Linked DNA regions of Homo sapiens: all the other regions are linked to region 1. The links are contacts of gene promoters, found by promoter capture Hi-C in blood cells and fetal thymus (Javierre and others, 2016). All regions are on one chromosome and are shown on one strand. The core of a region is centred on a gene start or on the middle of the fragment in contact, and the rest is flanking DNA. Distances in the headings are between cores, read along the strand shown.

Region 1 (2,725 bases), core at 165-2,664:
CTAAAAATGGAAAGCGCGTGTGGTGCAGGAGCGGAACCCAGCCTGCCTTTTCCAAATGGGGAAGACCGAACTTTCCCACCAGCTCCCAACGCAAAACAACTTTCAAAACAACTGCCTCCTCCCTCTGCTGCGAGCTCTCTTTCATCCTCTCACATGGAAGACTGAAAAGGGTTGCATCCTGCCAGCATCACTGAGCTACGGCCTCTTAGAAATCACTTGGACCACAGGAAAAGAGGAGGAAAAATGGGTGAAGGGGAAAACAGCCTGCAGTGTCTTCTGACTTGCAAGCATCTCATACCAAATTGAAAAGGCAAAAACAAAACATAAAACCGTTTAATAAAATTCCCTGGAGAGAATTCCTTTAGGAGTCCTCAGCTACAAATAGCACTTTCCATTTAAATCTGAAAGTGTATGAATTCCCAGAAGTCACTGATGTACTACAGTTTACTGTAACTAAAGTTATAACAAATTTAGAAGACTTGGAGGACAAGCTCTGCTTCCACTTGTACATTGATGAGGATATTCCCCCAAAATCCTCCCTCACACTCAGAAAAAAACTGTTTTCCAAAGGCAAAAAAAGGTAAACAACTTCTGTAAGGGTTTTCTCATATAGACATGTTTGATAAAAATGAGGAATATGGGTATCATTTCCATGTAAGAATGTGTGTTTGTTCAAATGTAAACATAACATTCTGTGGAAGTCCTTCAAGGAGGTTTTTACATTCTTCCACTTCTCTAAATAGGATGCTCTTAAAAAAAAAAAAGTTGGATGCAAAGTTGTTTTTCCCTCAGTTATGATTTAAGCAAACCTGCTTATTTTTATTTAGTTCCAACATGTAGAGTCATGACGCCAAACACATGTTAAAAATAAAATAAAATAGAAAACTTCAGCCAACCCGGAATAGTTTGACGAGTGTGAGCTGGAACCACTACTGAAATTTCAATGAATTGGCAATTATGTCTAGAACTGAAAGGGTTAATGATTCATAAGGAAAGTCTCACAAATGTTTGACAGCACTAAGTGCACTAAAGCAGAAGCATGTTTCTACTGCGACATTAGCCAAAAAAAATTAATAATAATAACAATAAAGGAAAAGAAAATAAAGTTTTCAGATCAATTTCAGAATTAAAAAAAAAAAATTCAAGTTCCTTACCAAGGTCGTACCCACACGTTTTTCCAAGCAAATATCCAACATCTGAGAAAAGTCTCGTTCATCTCTACCCAGTCCACATTCTCCCCGCGTCCCCCGCCAGGCTGAGCCGCACAGACGCGCACCTCGGCGGTCCCTCCTCGCTTCGTCCGGCCGCCCGGGCGCCCGCGTCCCAGCTCCGGGCGGACAGGTGCCGCGGTCGCTGCTCTTGCCTCTCCGCAACACTGGAGGGCCGAGTGTCACGGCAGCACTTTGTCTGTGTTAACCGTCTGGCTTCCCCTCCCTGCTTAAGATTTCCTTAGCCACTCGGCTGCGCGAAGTGGGGGCGTGGCCAACGTGGCCAACACCACCTGGCCGAGCCCAGGGCTTTCCCCCAGATTGCTAGCACAGCCGCCGAGAGCTTCCTCTCTTCGCATGTGTATTTCAACATTGACTTGGAATCTTCTTACTTCCCTTTGAAGGCACTTAACCTCAACGCTTACTTGGGCTCTATTGTATTCTAAACACTCCAGATCGCCCTCCTTCCTGGCGCGGCAGAATTAGGGGGCGCACGTTCCTTAAATTAAGGAAACTTAAAATTTACCTACACAGTTTCTGATTTCTCAGCTCAAATCCCCAGGTACAAAAGACACAAATCTTACTTCAAAAGAGCAAGTTAAATTGTTTTTGCAGCTAGTGTAATACAGTGGAGCTGTCTGGTCCTCAAGCTGTTGTGTATGTAACGCACGTTTCCCCGCCCCCCGCCCCAAAAGTTGTAACATTCCGTTTCTCCTGCTAACGTTCAAACTTGGCAGAACTAACTTTCCTCTTTTAACTATTTAGTAAATAGGGAAATAGGCAAAAGTTATAATTCTACAGATTGTTTGTTTTCCTTTCCTCTCCTCCCAGAACCCACAGGCTGACTTCCCAGGAGTGTAAGTAAAATGTAGAGCATTAGTCGTTTCACAGTTCAGAGGAATATTGAACTGATCACTGCAAGTGGAAAGCGGTCGGAGGCAGTAATTAGTGGGGCTTATTCTGAGCCCCGGCCAGCTTTTCCTCCAGCCCAGTCAGTCCTCTGTTGAAGGAAGGACATCCTGTGATGATGGCATACAATGTCCTGTTTGTTTATTATTAAGAGCGTGGACCTTGCATTCCTGCTTCTCATTACAAAACAAACCAGATGCTTTACTTCCTTCAATGGTCTTGTGCCTTCAGCAAGGAATCCTTTAATTCAGAGAAACAATGTTTATAGCAAACACCCCATTTCAATTATTATTTAGATCATTGAAATCCAGGTCTTCCATTTTTCCTGCTTGCCTTACCATAGGTAGGTTTTTTTAAAATCATTTCTCCTTCGACCTGCAATGTCTTTTCTAACATTTTAAATACACGTGTGCACACACATCCACCCACACACACACCCACATACACACACCCAGTTCCAACCTAATGATACCAACTTAGTCATACAATGAAATGGACATCTGAGTATTTGTTTACAGGAAGAAATGAAACAAAGCAAAACAAAAGCCCAACTCAATCCTAAAAAATATGTCTGTTTATCTTTAAAATTTCTTTTCTCACTTTTAGAA
Region 2 (2,725 bases), core at 150-2,649, 690 kb after region 1:
GATGTGGAAAGCCCGGTGTTGTAAGGGCCAAGGAGATTGTTCTCACCCAGCCAGAGCCACACTGGAACTAGAGCAGCACTAGGTTTTCTTTAGGAAATAGCCCTTACCTTCTGGCATTGTAGAACAAAGCAAGGAGACAGATTAAAAAATTCATCTGAGATAGAGGTAGTCTTCCCAACAGCTTTATACAAGAAGCCTTAACTAGAATGTTGGAGTGGTTCAGAGACTTGATTGGCAAGACATTGTCAGTGTGGTTTCATTAATGGGGTTAATCTTTTTTTTTTTCTGAGATGAAGTCTTGCTCTGTTGCCCGGGCTGGAGTGCAATAGGCGTTGTCTCAGCTCACTGCAACCTCTGCCTCCTGGGTTCAGGAGACTCCCCTGCCTTAGCCTCCCGAGTAGCTGGGATTACAGCACCTGCCACCATGCCCGGCTAATTTTTAAATTTTGAGTAGAGACAGGATTTCAGCATGTTGGCCAGGCTGGTCTTGAACTCCTGACCTCAAGTGATCCGCCTGCCTCAGTCTCCCAAAGTGCTGGGATTATGGCTGTGAGCCACTGCACTCTGTCCTAATGGGGTTAATCTTGATGGTATCAGGTGGAGAGATTTTGTAATGATTTTTACTGCTGGATAATTTCTTTTGGCATAATCACTTGAGGAGTGGTGAAAACTGTTTCTACTTGCTCCTTCAAACGCCTTCAAGTGGCTTCTAAGGCCAGGCCTTAGAAGCTCCAGAAAGCTTCCTTCAGCCAGGTTCTACTTACACTAAGCAGTTTTATTTCTTCCAATATCATGGTAACCTGAATGGGTGATGCTTTTGCACCTTCTTTTTGTAAACAGTGGAAAAAAGCATTTCATAACAGTAAATAAAAAGGAAGAAAGGCATTAGTTTTAAAATGTTTTGCCATTGCATTTAAGTCAGCTTTTTGAACTTATGTCAATTAGAATCATTATACTACATATTAGTAACTTGCTTTTTGGCAGTTTAGACATAAAAGCAAACCTGGGCTATATTGCAGGGAGATTTTCTAATCATTGGGAAGCTCAGCGGAACAGGAGAATGAGCACGTGTGTGTTAGCCCCCTCCCTGACGTGCCCTTCTTGTGTGCCCACTGTATTGTCCACTGTATTGTGTCATTCTGTGCTTGGCTGCTGACAGCACGTTTTCAAGTTTCTTTAGCACAGTGGCAGGTCTTTGTTTTGTGTTGTAGGGACAGAGCGGTTTCCTGTTCTGACCTTTCATCTTTCTTTCCTCTCTAGCTGAAACATTCTTTTCATGAAGGGTGGCTTGACACCTTTGAGAACCTGCCAACTTTGGTTCATGTGGTAATTTGGGCAGACACGTTGCCAGTGAGCCAATTAGCATTTTTGTCCATCCCTTTCCTATTTCTCCATTACATTAAAAAAATACCAGTTTTAATTGGGGTTAGAGAGTAATTATCTAATACCTCATTTTGTTTTTTACAGGTACAGGATTATCATGGTCATAAAATTTGTGACCCTTACGCCTGGCTTGAAGACCCCGACAGTGAACAGACTAAGGTAATTTGGTTTCTAATTAAAGATAAGGCAGCCTTAGTAGCTAGCACCAAACTCTAAATGTCAGTAACTATAGCTTTTCCTTTCTGGTGTTCTCCTGTGTTTTCTGCCATGGGATGGTGAGTATACCTGTTGTTACCACTACTTTTTGTCAAATAATTTATGGGAAAAAGACAAAAGCATGGCTTAGTCCCAGAGAAGATCACCTAAGTGTTTCAGATAATGTTTATGGTTCATAGTGACACTGATGAGCTATTTTAAATGAAAATATCAGAAAGAAAACTGATTTTTGCCAAAAGAAAAAATGAAAACCTAGATAGAAATGATGTTAAAGGAAAAAATTGCCTAAATATTTTTTTCCAAAGAAAAGGAAATCTTGTATATGAAATGAATATTAGGTCATGAAAACTGAACACTGTCCTTAAATTGCTTATTGATGTCAACACAACAACAGTGAAACAAAAGCTAAGTAGTGAAGGGGCAGGGGGGAGCATTTTCTGCCCTAAAAACATAAAGCTTTCATATTCTTTTGGAGAAACAGTATTTCAAGGATCCTGCTGAAGTCCATTCAGTAATGAAGGTGGCCCTAAGTCCTATGTCCCACAGACATTTTTCCCTTTTTGGAGTGCCTAGGACTTGTCACTTATGTATACTTTTTTTTTTTTTTTTTGTAGACAGAGTCTTACTCTGTCACCCAGGCTGTAGGGCACTGGTGCGATCTTGGCTCACTGCAACCTCCGCCTCCTGGGTTCAAGCAATTCTTGTACCTCAGCCTCCCGAGTAGCTGGGATTACAGGCATGTGCCACCACACCCGGCTAGTTTTTGTATTTTTAGTAGAGACGGGGGTTTCACCATGTTGGCCAGGCTGGTCTCGAACTCCTGGCCTCAAGTGATCCTCCCGCCTCGGCCTCCCAAAGTGTTGGGATTACAAGTGTGCACCATCGCGCCCAGCCCATTTATGTGTACTTTATGTAGTTAATTAAGTTTGCTTGGTTGGGGGAATAGTGTTTCTCAAGTTCATCTTAAGTTCTTGGATTCTTCTATTTATAACCATAGTACATAATACTTAGTACATATTTGCAGTTTCTGATATGTTCAGCATCCCAAAATTTATTCGAGCTTCTTTAGAGTTGCAGGGTACGTTTCCCATTTAAAAAAAAAAAAGGTTAAATGGCACTCTAGGTA
Region 3 (2,725 bases), core at 78-2,577, 670 kb after region 1:
TCCTTCCCCTATACTTGGTATTTTCGGAATTATTGTATCTTTTTTTTTTTTTTTTTTTTTTTTTTTTGAGACGGAGTCTCGCTCTGTTGCCGAGGCTGGACTGCAGTGGTGCAATCTCCGCTCACTGCAAACTCCACCTCCCGGGTTCACGCCATTCTCCTGCCTCAGCCTCCCGAGTAGCTGGGACTACAGGTGCCTGCCACCATGCCTGGCTACTTTTTTGTATTTTTAGTAGAGACGGGGTTCACCGTGTTAGCCAGGATTGTCTCGATCTTCTGACCTCCTGATCTGCCCACCTCAGCCTCCCAAAGTGCTGGGATTACAGCTGTAGCCACCACGCCCGGCCCAGAATTATTGTTTCTAATCTAGTGGATCTGTAATGATACCACACTGTGGTTTAAATGTGCATTTCCCTGATTCCTAGTGAAATTAAGTACTTTTTCTTTTATTTTTTTAATTATACTTTAAGTTCTAGGGTACATGTGCACAACGTGCAGATTTGTTACATATGTATACATGTGCCATGTTGATGTGCTGCACCCATTAACTCGTTATTTACATTAGGTATATCTCCTAATGCTATCCCTCTCCCCACCCCCAACCCCACGACAAGCCCCGGTGTGTGATGTTCCCCTTCCTTTGTCCAAGTGTTCTCATTGTTCAATTCCCACCTGTGAGTGAGAATATGCGGTGTTTGGTTTTTTGTCCTTGCTATAGTTTGCTGAGAATGATGCTTTCCAGCTTCATCCATGTCCCTACAAAGGACATGAACTCATCCTTTTTTATGGCTGCATAGTATTCCATGGTGTATATGTGCCACATTTTCTTAATCCAGTCTATCATTGATGGACATTTGGGTTGGTTCCAAGTCTTTGCTATTGTGAATAGTGCCACAATAAACATACGTGTGCATGTGTCTTTATAGCAGCATGATTTATAATCCTTTGGATATATACCCAGTAATGGGATCGCTGGGTCAAATGGTATTTCTAGTTCCAGATCCTTGAGGAATTGCCACACTGTCTTCCACAATGGTTGAACTAGTTTACAGTCCCACCAACAGTGTAAAAGTGTTCCTATTTCTCCACATCCTCTCCAGCACCAGCTGTTTCCTGACTTTTTAATGATAGCCATTCTAACTGGTATGAGATGGTATCTCATTGTGGTTTTGATTTGCATTTCTCTGATGGCCAGTGATGATGAACATTTTTTCATGTGTCTGTTGGCTGCATAAATGTCTTCTTTTGAGAAGTGTCTGTTCATATCCTTCACCCACTTTTTGATGGGGTTGTTTGTGTTTTTCTTGTAAATTTGTTTGAGTTCTTTGCAGATTCTGGATATTAACCCTTTGTCAGATGAGTAGATTGCAAAAATTTTCTCCCATTCTGTAGGTTGCCTGTTCACTGTGATGGTAGTCTCTTTTGCTGTGCAGAAGCTCTTTAGTTTAATTAGATCACATTTGTCAATTTTGGCTTCTGTGGCCATTGCTTTTGGTGTTTTAGACATGAAGTCCTTGCCCATGCCTATGTCCTGAATGGTATTGCCTAGGTTTTCTTCTAGGGTTTTTATGGCTTTAGGTCTAATATTTAAGTCTTTAATCCATCTTGAATTAATTTTTGTGTAAGGTGTAAAGAAGGGATCCAGTTTCAGCTTTCTACATATGGCTAGCCAGTTTTCCCAGCACCATTTATTAAATAGTGAATCCTTTCCCCATTTCTTGTCAGGTTTGTCAAAGATCAGATGGTTGTAGATGTGTGGTGTTGTTTCTGAGGCCTCTGTTCTGTTCCATTGGTCTATATCTCTGTTTTAGCACCAGTACCATGCTGTTTTGGTTACTGTAGCCTTGTAGTATAGTTTGAAGCCAGGTAGCATGATGCCTCCAGCTTTGTTCTTTTTGTTTAGGATTGTCTTGGCAATGCGGGCTCTTTTTTGGTTCTATATGAACTTTAAAGTGGTTTTTTCCAACTCTGTGAAGAAAGTCATTGGTAGCTTGATGGGGATGGCATTGAATCTGTAAATTACCTTGGGCAGTATGGCCATTTTCACGATATTGATTCTTCCTATCCATGAGCATGGAATGTTCTTCCATTTGTTTGTGTCCTCTTTTATTTCCTTGAGCAGTGGTTTGTAGTTCTCCTTGAAGAGGTCCTTCACATCCCTTGTAAGTTGGATTCCTAGGTATTTTATTCCTTTGTAGCAATTGAGAATGGGAGTTCACTCATGATTTGGCTCTCTGTTTGTCTTTTACTGGTGTATAAGAATGCTTGTGATTTTTGCACTTTGATTTTGTATCCTGAGACTTTGCTGAAATTGCTTATCAGCTTAAGGAAATTTGGGGCCGAGATGATGTGGTTTTCTAAATATACAATTATGTCATCTGCAAACAGGGACGGTTTGACTTTCTCTTTTCCTAATTGAATACCCTTTATTTCTTTCTCTTGCCTGATTGTCCTGGCCAGAACTTCCAACACTATGTTGAATAAGAGTGGTGAGAGAGGGCATCCTTGTCTTGTGCTGGTTTTCAAAGGGAATGCTTCCCGTTTTTGCCCATTCAGTATGATATTGGCTGTGGGTTTGATATTATTTTCAGATACGTTCCATCAATACCTAGTTTATTGAGAGTTTTTAGCATGAAGGGCTGTTGAATTTTTTCAAAGGCCTTTTCTCCATCTATTGAGATAATCATGTGGTTTTTGTCATTGGTTCTGTTTACGTGATGAATTAC
Region 4 (2,725 bases), core at 62-2,561, 650 kb after region 1:
TGGTCTTTCACAATTTCCTGATATAATACTTCAAAGCTGATTTAATCATAAATAATTTACATTAAAATTAGTTCCTGTTTAGTGAATGAGTGATTGTTGGCAGATATACATTTTCTTATATCATTACAGGTAGGAAAATAGTAGGAGATTTGTTTAGGCACCAAACTTATTCCATAAAAATTCTTTCATCATCAAAGCTGTACTTGATATGCTTGAAAAGATTAGGATGATAGATTCTGAGTCTTCCCTTCTTGGCATGATCAGAGGATAAAATCTTTTTTCATCATCTTAAAAAAACAGAACTACCATGTGCAGTCTCAGAAAAATGGTGAAATTGTGTTACATAGTTAAACGAACCAGTTCACACTCATTCTGAAAATTAGCTCAGAGCTTTTTGTTCCAAATTTAACAAACTAAATAAACTAAAAATATACTCTGAGTAGGTCATAATCATATTAGCCAAGCAAAAATTAGTTTTCAAGTTCTACATGTGACAGATGTGCTTGGATGGAAGACATTTGTTAACTTCTTTGTCGTTTATGGAGGTCTGTCCCTCTGTATCTGTACCATGGGTTCCTCTGAGGACAGATAATTTGCTTTTGCATCATGTATACCCCTACATTTCTCCAGCATCTAGAACATCATTTGCTAGATAGTTGATTAAATAAGTAACAAGTTAACAGTCCAAGCCAAATTTCAAACATGTCTTTTCCCCCATTTAATTGCTACATACTACGTTATAGTGGAGCATATTTAATAAAATAACACTATCATCTGTGATAGAAAGCCAAAAAAACAACATTTAATAATGGAGTCAATTCTACCACATGCAGAGCCAGGGAAGACTTCTACTTTTACACTTTATGTACTTCTGGATTGTTTTAACTTTTTTTACTTTAAAAAAACATATATTACTTCTGTAATTTTAAAAAAAATAGAATGAAAGGCTGAGAATATTTTGTTTTGTCGTAAACATTCACGCTTTAGGAATTTGTTGTTCCTAAAAGGGTGGGGACCAAAGAAAGTTTCAAAGATGCTGAAGCACAAAAACTGTTTAATGTAAATATTAGGATTCACATAACTACAACTTGGAAAAATGCTATTGATCCAGATCTCCCGCAATCCTTTGCTAAAGCAATGAAAAAGAAGCATATTTTCTTCCTATTTTAAGGCGATAGATTGTTTTTGCTAGACTGTGGGGGATGGGGAGAGAATCATGTTGTTTTGTACTTAAGTGTAAGTGTACCTTATAACTCCCTGCAAAAGAAGGGATAAAAAAATATCAAAGAAGAAGGACAAGTCATAGCCCTTTTCTTTTTTCCCCCAGAAATTTTATTCCAGGTTAGTAAGAACTTACAGGACAGTTTGCCACCAAACTTACCTAATAGTCTCAAAGCTGTGCCTAACATTAACGAGATTTTACTCTAAAATTCAATGGATGGTGACTTAAAAATGAGTTAAATCTTCCCATGTCTTAACAGTGGGTTGTGTAAAGTGATTTTCTTCCAAAGACTACTGAAAGGAGAGGGGGGATAAAAGTAACTTTACAGCAGAGACACCTGACAAACACTATCCTGACCAGATGCTCAAGGTTAACAGCAACAGTGATAAGTCTGGCCGATGGCGTGTACCCTTGAGATGAGGTGATGAGTGGGCCATCTCACCTCTGTGGTCTTTCTCCCCCAAACCCATTACTGCAGCCTAATCATAAGAAAAATGGGCAAATCCCAATGGAAGGACTTTCTACAAAATAGCTGACCAGCACACCACGGAACTGTCAAAGTTATCAAAAACAAGAAAAGTCTGAAAAACTGTCACAGCCAAGAGGACCCTAAAGAGACATGACAGCTAAATGTAATATAGTATCCTGGATGGGATCCTTCCTAGAACAGAAAAAGACATTAGGTAAAAACTAAAGGAAATCTGAATAAAGTATGGACTTCAGTTAATGTCAATGTATTATTATTGGTTCATTGTTATAACAAATATACCACAGTAAATATAAGATGTTAATAATAGGAAAAAATGGCTACAAAGTATATGGGAGTTCTCTTACTCTCCTTGCAACTTTTCTGTGAGTCCAAAACTATTCTGAAATAAAAAATGTTTGATTTTGTTAAAGTAAATGAAGTAGGAATAAGACCTGAACAATTTAATCTTCCAGTGGCAGGAATTAAAGATTTCTTTAGTAGGAGGCAGTGGTACACATCTGTAGTCCCAACTATTTAGGAGGCTGAGGTGGGAGGATCTCTTGAACCAAGGAGTTTGAGGCCAGCCTGGGCAATATATTGAGAACCCATCTCTAAATTAAGAATTAAAACAAAAAAGTTTTAAGATTTTTTTCAAGCATGCAAGTTCTGATTGTTTAATAAATATGCACCAGTCTTTGTGGATTACTCTAAAAATACTCTTTTATGATATACTCTTAAAATAAATTTTGATAAAACCATAAAAAGCTATATCTGAAGAGTGGAACAGATCTTTGAAATAGACTCATCTTTATTTTATGAATGAGTTAGTAAGAAGCTGATAGGCAGAGCAAAAAGGCAAACCCAATTCCCCTAACTCCACATCCCCAAAGTACGAAGACCCCTACCACAAAATACCAACTGAACACAGGAATCTATTTCTAAGATATCTATCACTCCAATCACAGTCTGCCAGAAATTTGGTATAATTGCCCAATATTTTCCAATGACTTAATTTAAAGTAATTCTAGATATCA
Region 5 (2,725 bases), core at 94-2,593, 570 kb after region 1:
AAACATAAAATCAGTTTAAGTCAGTGTTGTGGCTCTCTGTGGAGAGATACTAGCCTAACTCCTGGGAGAATTTTGCACATGTACCTGGAGATGACATGAGGGACCCACCCTAGGGCTGTGAATCCCGATCTCTGTGGTCCAAGCAAGAATATTTTTGCTCCCCAAACTTCCCAGGTGATTCTGCAACATTCTACTGCAAAGCTGGCCTCAGTCTTCCTGAACCCCACAAATGCTGGCATTGTCACAGAGATTCCTGAAACGTAAGACCTTATAGGCATTCCAAAAGTTATGTTACACCCAATACTTTAGAGTTGGGGGACTGGATATAGGGAAAGAAAGAAAGGGAAGCTTTCCCCTTAACCTTCTCTTCCACTATATAATATATGAGCTCTGACCACAAAGCTCACATAGCAATTTTTGTTTTCCTCTTTCATGCTACAAACCCCTTTCTACTTTGCATTGGAAATTATATATAATTTATTCTCTCCATGGATTACCTTGTATTCCTCAAAGTGCTTGGCACATGACAATGAGAAATCATTGTTGAGGTGAATTGATAGGTGAATGAATTCAACAGTGAATTCAGTCTTCTCAACTTCTATACCTGCTGAGACCCAAAAGGAAGGGGGTGATTGGACTAGGAAGAGAAAGGCAGTGTCGGTATCTCTGAAGCTGCCTTGACCAGAAACAAAGCATTTTTGACTCATGAGGGACCATTTCCCCAGGGATGAGAACAAGTGCACCTTTTCCTGTCTCTCCAAGCAAGAAACGAATGCTGAGATCTTGAAATGCCTTGCTGTGCTCTGCCAAACTCACAAACACACCATATGAGATGCTGATGAAATACTTTTAAAGAAAAGAAAAACTGGCCGGGTGTGGTGGCTCATGCCTGCAATCCCAGTACTTTGGGAGGCCAAGACAAGTGGATCACCTGAGGTCAGGAGTTCAAGACTAGCCTGACCAACATGGCAAAACCCTGTCTCTACTAAAATACAAAATTAGGTGGGCGTGGGGGCAGGCACCTGTAATCCCAGCTACTTGGGAGGCTGAGGCAGGAGAATCACTTGAACCCGGGAGGCCAGAGGTTGCAGTCAGCCAAGATCACCACTGTACTCCAGCTGGGGCAACAGAGTGAGACTCTGTCTCAAAAAAAAAAAGAAAGAAAGAAAGTAAGAAAAACCATAATTGAAGTGGGTTGTCCTCCAGTGACACTTAGTGCCCCCTAAAAATCTAAGCGACTGTGGTCTCAGGCTTTCAGCAGGCAGGTTGCTCTTGTCTCATGCATGCAATTCTGTGTGGTGGAGAGCTAGAATAGGCTGATAAGCAGAGTTTATAGTGAGGAGGTTTCTAAAACCAAGAAAACTGTATAAACATAGAAAACTAAAAGAGGAAGAATCAACAGAACCAAGAGCTTATTTGTAATGTCTCATGTACCATGTGGGAGGCTTCCAGGTTTGAGTCGCTTATTTGAAACCTATCTTGCTGAGGGCATATATTAAGGTGTATTCTCCAAATCCATTGTGGGGGCATCATTTCCAACAGCCAGGCAATTTCAAGGCCAGGTTGGCCAAGATATCTTGGTATTTCACAGTGGAACATGTTCTTTGAAATGCAAGAATGAAAAGCAGGGTCTCAGGTGGTGAGTATGGAGGGTCAATCAAGTGAGTATGGAGGGTCAATCAATTACTGTTAAAGTCCTTGATGGGGTCTACACAGATCTGCTGTTATTGAGGGAATAACTTCAGTTGGAACAGGTAGCAGTCACTTAACCTGTCAATTGAGCTGTTTAGATGAGTGGCTCACAAGATTCACTGCCAACCTGAATTAAATGTAAGTGTACACCCAGACTGTTTTCAGCATCACTTGCACAAATATATATATTTCCACCTCCACCTCTGAAGAAGCCAATTCAGTAGGACTATGATAAAAGAATAAATACTTTTAAAGGTCCTGATATGATTCTGGGGCCCAGCTAGATTTGGGGAACAGTACTCTCCATAATTAATAGAGTGTAGGTGTAGCCCAGGTATGGAACAACTCCAAGGCATCTTTGGAGTAGTTACCAAATAGGAAGGGCATTTCCATTCTTCAGTGCATTTTTAATATTGAGAAACACTTTAGGTAGTGAGTTAAATTGTATGGAAATATTCATGTGCTCTACACACACACACACACAGACACACACATATACTAGTGATAGGAAAAAATCTAGATTTGATTCATCCTGTTGCTAGCCAAATTCTTTCCATCCACTGAACTTCCTCAGAGTTCTTTGAAGTCAACAATTACTTTGTTCTCAGAGGAATCATTCTGTGGCAAGGAAAATGTTGAAAGCTTAGCAGTGGTATTAGGACTTTCCCAATCTGAATCATTTCAAAATATTTATCTGCATTTTGTTTATTCTTTTTCAGTATTTAGACTTCACTCTTTCTATTAACCAAATCTACTGATATTAGTCACTTGGAAGGCATAGTAAAGACAGCAAATTTGTCAGTGTTGATAACAAAAGGCAGCTACCAATAACTGATTTCCTTATTAATCTACGCTGTCCTCTTTCAGAAGCACAGGTTTGGTGACTGAATAGAACCTTGAGCATAGAGCCTGAAACAGAATCATTTCATAGTAAATATGAACTATAATTTGCATTATTCTTCTTTCATTACCTCATTAGCCAGCCCCACTCCTCCTGACAGATTAGCAGCAATGTACTGAGGGAATATTTTAC
Region 6 (2,725 bases), core at 142-2,641, 540 kb after region 1:
GGTGAAGGGCCAGGCATGGTGGCTCACACCTGTAATCCCAGCACTTTGGGGGGCCGAGGCAGGTGGATCACAAGGTCAGGAGTTCGAGACCAGCCTTGGTCAATGTGGTGAAACCCCGTCTCTACTGAAAATACAAAAATTAGCTGGGCCTGGTGGCGCGCCCCTATAATCCCAACTACTCAGGAGGCTGAGGCAGAAGAATCGCTTGAACCCAGGAGGTGGAGGTTGCAGTGAGCCGAGATCGCACCACTGCACTCCAGCCTAGGCGACAGAGTGAGACTCCGTCTCAAAAAAATTAAAATAAAACAATTAGAGGTGAGGGGGTAGAAATCAGAAGTGCAGACTTTTTTGAAGATCTGTCTTCCAAAAGGAGAGAGTGGTTAGTAAACGTGTAGGTCTGTGTGTTTATGTTTTGGAGTAAAAATAATACTCCCTGACACACACACACACACACACCTCCGAAGAGAAACCCCGTCATCTATTCCTCTAGCTTAAGAGTGATAGAGTGATGTTAGCACATAAAATTGTAACAACAGACACCCTACATTTTTTAATATTCCTTCCTCCCTTTTTTCTACCTCCTTCCCTTTGTTTCTTTTCTGCCTTCCTTCCTCTCCTTCTTTAGTAATACAAGAAGAGATAACAAATTATCTTCAGTGAGCAGAAAAAAAAATATGGTAATGCAAAGGAATTAAGAATAGGTACAAAATTTAAGAAATAAATAACCAAAGCTTCAGATAACAGCAATAATTCAAATTCGTAACCTCAAATCCAAGTACTTCTGTTTATTTTGAGTTCTTATCTTTTAAATGAAGGTCTGCTTTCTTAAAAACAAACAAATCTTCTATAGTTATCTTCTGAAGGAAATATATGAAAGTTAAAGTGAATCAGAAGAATGAGAGAACATTCATTGTTATATGAACAAAGGTCCAAAATGTTCTTTAAAAATCATACTTTCATGTTGATTACCTCAGCAATAAGAGGAACTTTAGAATTTATTAGCCCATTTTACAGATGGGAAAACAGGCCCAGAGAGGTCTGGTGACTTGTCTAATTATATGGCCAGGACAAAAAAAAATTATCTCTCAACCTCCATTCAACCACTACTACCCCAAAGGATTTCCTCTTCCTAAACCAAGTTATCATTGGTTTTGAAAGGAATATAATAATGCTGTCCATTTAACTCCCAGAGGTTTCTTGTTCATAACTAGAAGGGCATCCAAAGTGCTTTGAGCTGTAGGAGGATGAACTGTATGCACTGAAAGCATTTGCCTTCTCCTCATTCTATACCTTTGTATTTACATTTACATCTACCTATTGTCTTGGTTGCTCCCTGTATTATTTATTTACATCTATCACCTACCTTCCAGTCATCTTGGTCCCTAATTTCACAGCCACACACTTGTAACTTTGTCATGTAAAAGTATTCCCATTTTCCTATAGCTGCCTGTAGCTCTGCCAGTTGACTGTGTTTACTGTGTCTGTGTCGTGTCTGTGTACCAGCATGCAGATGGTCTGAGCTTCACTCAGAGACAGTCCCTGTCCTCGAGCTGTGTTCCCACAATTCATACAAAGGCCAGCCTCAAAAGGACCACCACTTAAGGGTCCTCTATAAGATTAGAAACAGGAGGTTTTACCCCATATTTTCTGTACTGGTGGCCTTTCTGAGAGCCCCTTGCACATGACATTAGAATTGGAGGTACTTAAGAAAAAAAAGAATACTCTTAAAGCTAATCCTGCTGTTGACAGAAAGCAGAATTCGACTTTGGAAACTATCCATTCCTTAATATCGCATATTGCTCTCATTTGCAGTGTAAAATGATGCAACTTACGTTGTACTTTGTCCAGTAGGGCACTTAATCCTCATGAAAGAAAGAAATGAATCACTGCAGCAAGACGCGCATCCCTGATGACTCTGTCTTATGTTAGAAATGAGTAATTATTATAGGGATAAATAACTGTGAGTTTCTCAGAATAGATAAGTTTCCTCAAGTCATGAGACAGCGCTCACAGGATTCCCTCATCCCAAATCCTGGAAACGCTAAGCTTCGGACACCCCCATTCTTGCGTTCAGGAACTGAGACATTTAAATGGGCATGAGTGGAAAAATCCACATTTGCTCACAGGATATGAATACGGTTTCCTTGCTTCAAGTGGCATCTTAATGGGAATTGTGTTTCACACTCCAATTAAAGAGGCCAAGTCCCAGAGAAAGGCTCTAACTTTCAATAGCTGTGTATAAATAGCATAGGAGAGTAAACAATTGGGGAACCACTTTCCCAGGCCAGCCTTTAAGGACATCGAACTCCAGAACCAATCACATGAGAAATATCACTCATATATTGCCATGGTGGCTTCCATATTAAAAGCTGGTGTTTACCATTCAGTTAGGAGAGTACTGTAATAAAAAAAAAAAATAAGATTGCTATTTTATCTTGATAAAGTTAGTCCAAAGCAAACATCAATGTTTTTGAGAAAACAAATACTGTAAAGCAATTCAGATGTCTTCTAGAGAAAAGTAATTTATCATGTCTCTTCTGAGCTTCAGGTGTTTCCAGGAACTAGGAAATGTTTTGAAAATGAAGCAAAATTGGTAAGCAGACTAATATCAAATAAATTGTTTCCCAAGCCATGATCATAATCCAAAAGCCTGGATAAAGAACGTATTTTTCGGTCATGCACTGTTCTCCTTTGTCTTAGCTTGATGAGTAAGAAGCTGAGCTAT
Region 7 (2,725 bases), core at 149-2,648, 520 kb after region 1:
AATGGAATACAGCTCAGCAGTAAAAAGAAACAAACAACTGATACTCATAAGAATATGGGTGAATGTCAAGTATACTATGCTCAGCAAAGGAAGCCAAACTCAAAAGGCTACATACCTATTCAAAAAGCACTATACTGGGCCAGGCGCGGTGGCTTACGCTTGTAATCCCAGCACTGTGGGAGGCCGAGGCGGGCGGATCACGAGGTCAAGAGTTCGAGACCAGCCTGGCCAACATGGTGAAACCCCATCTCTACTAAAAATACAAAAAATTAGCTGGGCGTGGCGGCAGGCACCTATAATCCCACCTTTTGGGAGGCTGAGGCGGGAGAATCACTTGAAGCCGGGAGGTAGAGGTTGCAATGAGCCGAGATCGCGCCATTGCACTCCAGCCCGGGCAACAGTGCGAGACTCATCTCAAAAAAAAAAAAAAAAAAAATTTCTACCACAGAGCTTCCCCTCTTTGCTTTCTTCCTTTCCTCTGTGCTTTCTTCCTGGGCTCTCATCTTCTCTTATGGCTTTAAGCCTAGTCTCCATACTGGTGACTCTAAATTTTATATCGCCTGAATTCCAATTTAAAGTTTCTGCTGGCAATTCAAAATCACCGTGTCGAAACCCTATACTCTCCTGGCCAGTTTCTTTTCAGAACTGCACCTCCTATGCTTCCCATATACCCCACTTAAACCTCCCTGCTCTCAGGCCACTTTTATTGGAGTTGTCTTTAATTCCTCTCTCTACACTCATGCCTCATTAGTCACTAAATTTTGTTGATTATACTTTCTAATTATCTCTCAAACAACGCTGTCTCTTCCTTTATATTTCCCAAGCTACTTCCCAAACTCTTGCTCTCACCACTCTTCCTTAGACCATAGCAATAGCCCCTTCTGCAACTAAGCCTTTGTCTCTTTGGTCCACACCTCATTAACATGACACAAATGTCACGTTCCCTGTTTCTTTTGCTCAAAAATCTGCATAGCGTCTCAGGCCTTATGGGATACAGTATGATCTTCTTAGCCTGAGTTTTAAGGCTCTGAATGATTGAGTTCAAATGCTTTTTAAAACCTGTTTTCCTGCCACATCTTTCCACACACGCCAGCCTCCAGAATCACCATCAATATACTTGCAGGGCCTTCACAGAACAAGTGCTTACATTCTCCTGGCTTCTGATAGGCTTCTTCCTAAAACATCCTTCCTCTAAAATTGTTTGACTAATGATAAAATTTCCATTCTTTGGATGTGACCCAAATATCACAATCTATAATGAATCTTTCCCCAATCCTTCCTCTCAGAATGAATAACTCTCGTCCTTGACTCATCTTTGGTGCGTGTGTGTGTGTGTGTGTGTCAATAGATTTGATGACAAAACTGAAGTTACTTATATAAATTATTGACCCTATTAGAGAGTGTGCCCCTTCAGGACAGGACCTGTGTCTTATTCACTTTTATGAACTCTACAGCAGACTAGTAAAGGGCCTCTCTTAAAGAAGATAATATTTGCTAAAGTAGGTCGGGTGCAGTGGCTCACGCCTGTAATCTCAGCACTTTGGGAGGCTGAAGCAGTTGGATCATTTGAGGTCAGGAGTTTGAGACCAGCCTGGCAAACATGGCGAAACCCCATCTTTACTAAAAATAGAAAAACTAGCCGGGCATGGTGGTGGGTACCTGTAAGCCCAGCTACTCTGGAGGCTGAAGCAGGAGAACTGCTTGAACCTGAGAGGCGGAGGTTGCAGTGAACCATAATTGTGCCACTGCACTCCAGCCTGGGTGACAGAGCGAGACTCCATCTCAAAAAAAAAAAAAAAAAAAAAAAAAAAAAAAAAAAAAGCTGAACTAAATTTAGACCATCCTCTAAAGTTTAAAAGAATTCTGCACAATTAAAATGGAGCTAAATTAAGGTCTATATATCCTTTAATTAAGACTCTATACCGAATCTGCTATATAGACTGCCCTATTTCAAGTTGCTGTTCAGAGGATGTAGAATGGCCCTTAGCCTAAAATGTCCTAATCCATCATCAGCCTTAAATCCCATCATGTGTAATAAGGGCAAGATCTGACAGAGCAGAAGGGCCTCTGTTGCACATGCCACCTGGGACTGGCCCCCTTCAATAGCAGTTTTTCCATTTAAATTACCTTTAGGCCTCCAATAACAATTCCTTTGTTAAAGTAAACTCTATCTGCCTGAGATTCAACACTAAGGGTTTCTCTATCCATTTCAAGTAGGAATGGGAGGTTAGTTTCCTAGTGTAAATTCTCTAGATGTTGAATGGAAGAAAATGAAATTCAGATTTAAAAACATCTCATCAGTATTTCAAGTCTGTGGCCAATCAACAGGAATCCACTGAGCATTTTCTATGAAACTAGCATTGTTTATGACAGTCCAGGGTGTTTAAAGGGCATTGAGGTATGCTCTTCATTCCCAAGGAATTTTGTGTGCAGAGCCAAGAGAAAGGGGCAGAATTAATGTGTGAAATTATTTAAGAATACCAACTTCAGGGTAAGGGATTATGAAGAGCAGCCTCATCTAGAGAAGAAAGAGATCTCAATGGGTTGGTGTCATGGGTAAAGCCTTCCAGAGCACAGTCTATATGTCTTATTTGAGTAAAGAATGAGAAAGAATCAGTGTATTAGCTTCCCAGGGCTGCTGTAACAAATTTCCACAAACTAGATAGCTTAACACAACAGAAATTTATTCTGTTACCGTTCTAGAGGCAAGAAGTCTGAAATTAAG

Evidence for each region. The method cuts DNA at HindIII sites, captures the fragments that hold promoters and counts their contacts. A CHiCAGO score of 5 or more calls a contact.
Region 2: a fragment that was not itself captured here is called in contact with the fragment with the promoter of PRDM1 in region 1 in 2 of 17 cell types (total CD4 T cells and naive CD8 T cells); the score reaches 7.1 in total CD4 T cells.
Region 3: a fragment that was not itself captured here is called in contact with the fragment with the promoter of PRDM1 in region 1 in 1 of 17 cell types (M0 macrophages); the score reaches 5.7 in M0 macrophages.
Region 4: a contact is called between a fragment that was not itself captured here and the fragment with the promoter of PRDM1 in region 1, in 14 of 17 cell types (M0 macrophages, total CD8 T cells, total CD4 T cells and 11 more). The highest score is 17.2, in M0 macrophages.
Region 5: a fragment that was not itself captured here is called in contact with the fragment with the promoter of PRDM1 in region 1 in 6 of 17 cell types (M1 macrophages, activated CD4 T cells, M0 macrophages and 3 more); the score reaches 7.4 in M1 macrophages.
Region 6: a contact is called between a fragment that was not itself captured here and the fragment with the promoter of PRDM1 in region 1, in 2 of 17 cell types (M0 macrophages and M1 macrophages). The highest score is 7.4, in M0 macrophages.
Region 7: a contact is called between a fragment that was not itself captured here and the fragment with the promoter of PRDM1 in region 1, in 2 of 17 cell types (M1 macrophages and monocytes). The highest score is 5.7, in M1 macrophages.

What each region holds. Positions count from the first base shown.
Region 1 is chr6:106,085,025-106,087,749 of GRCh38, reverse strand. It overlaps PRDM1 (PR/SET domain 1), which reads right to left and starts at 1,414. Exons shown (of 7, transcript NM_001198.4): 1 at 1,155-1,414. The coding sequence starts at 1,196. RefSeq lists an enhancer at 1,067-1,786. The HindIII fragment of the contact is 5,820 bases long and covers 1-2,725 here.
Region 2 is chr6:105,396,670-105,399,394 of GRCh38, reverse strand. PREP (prolyl endopeptidase) reads left to right here. Exons shown (of 15, transcript NM_002726.5): 2 at 1,468-1,542. Among named protein-coding and RNA genes, the nearest start is that of PREP, 5.0 kb to the left of the region's middle. RefSeq lists an enhancer at 733-1,495. The HindIII fragment of the contact is 1,316 bases long and covers 742-2,057 here.
Region 3 is chr6:105,418,873-105,421,597 of GRCh38, reverse strand. No RefSeq gene overlaps it. Among named protein-coding and RNA genes, the nearest start is that of PREP, 17 kb to the right of the region's middle. The HindIII fragment of the contact is 2,945 bases long and covers 1-2,725 here.
Region 4 is chr6:105,435,105-105,437,829 of GRCh38, reverse strand. No RefSeq gene overlaps it. Among named protein-coding and RNA genes, the nearest start is that of PREP, 33 kb to the right of the region's middle. The HindIII fragment of the contact is 7,172 bases long and covers 1-2,725 here.
Region 5 is chr6:105,510,487-105,513,211 of GRCh38, reverse strand. No RefSeq gene overlaps it. Among named protein-coding and RNA genes, the nearest start is that of PREP, 110 kb to the right of the region's middle. The HindIII fragment of the contact is 1,986 bases long and covers 351-2,336 here.
Region 6 is chr6:105,545,740-105,548,464 of GRCh38, reverse strand. No RefSeq gene overlaps it. Among named protein-coding and RNA genes, the nearest start is that of LINC02836, 85 kb to the left of the region's middle. The HindIII fragment of the contact is 1,315 bases long and covers 734-2,048 here.
Region 7 is chr6:105,562,885-105,565,609 of GRCh38, reverse strand. No RefSeq gene overlaps it. Among named protein-coding and RNA genes, the nearest start is that of LINC02836, 68 kb to the left of the region's middle. The HindIII fragment of the contact is 3,596 bases long and covers 1-2,725 here.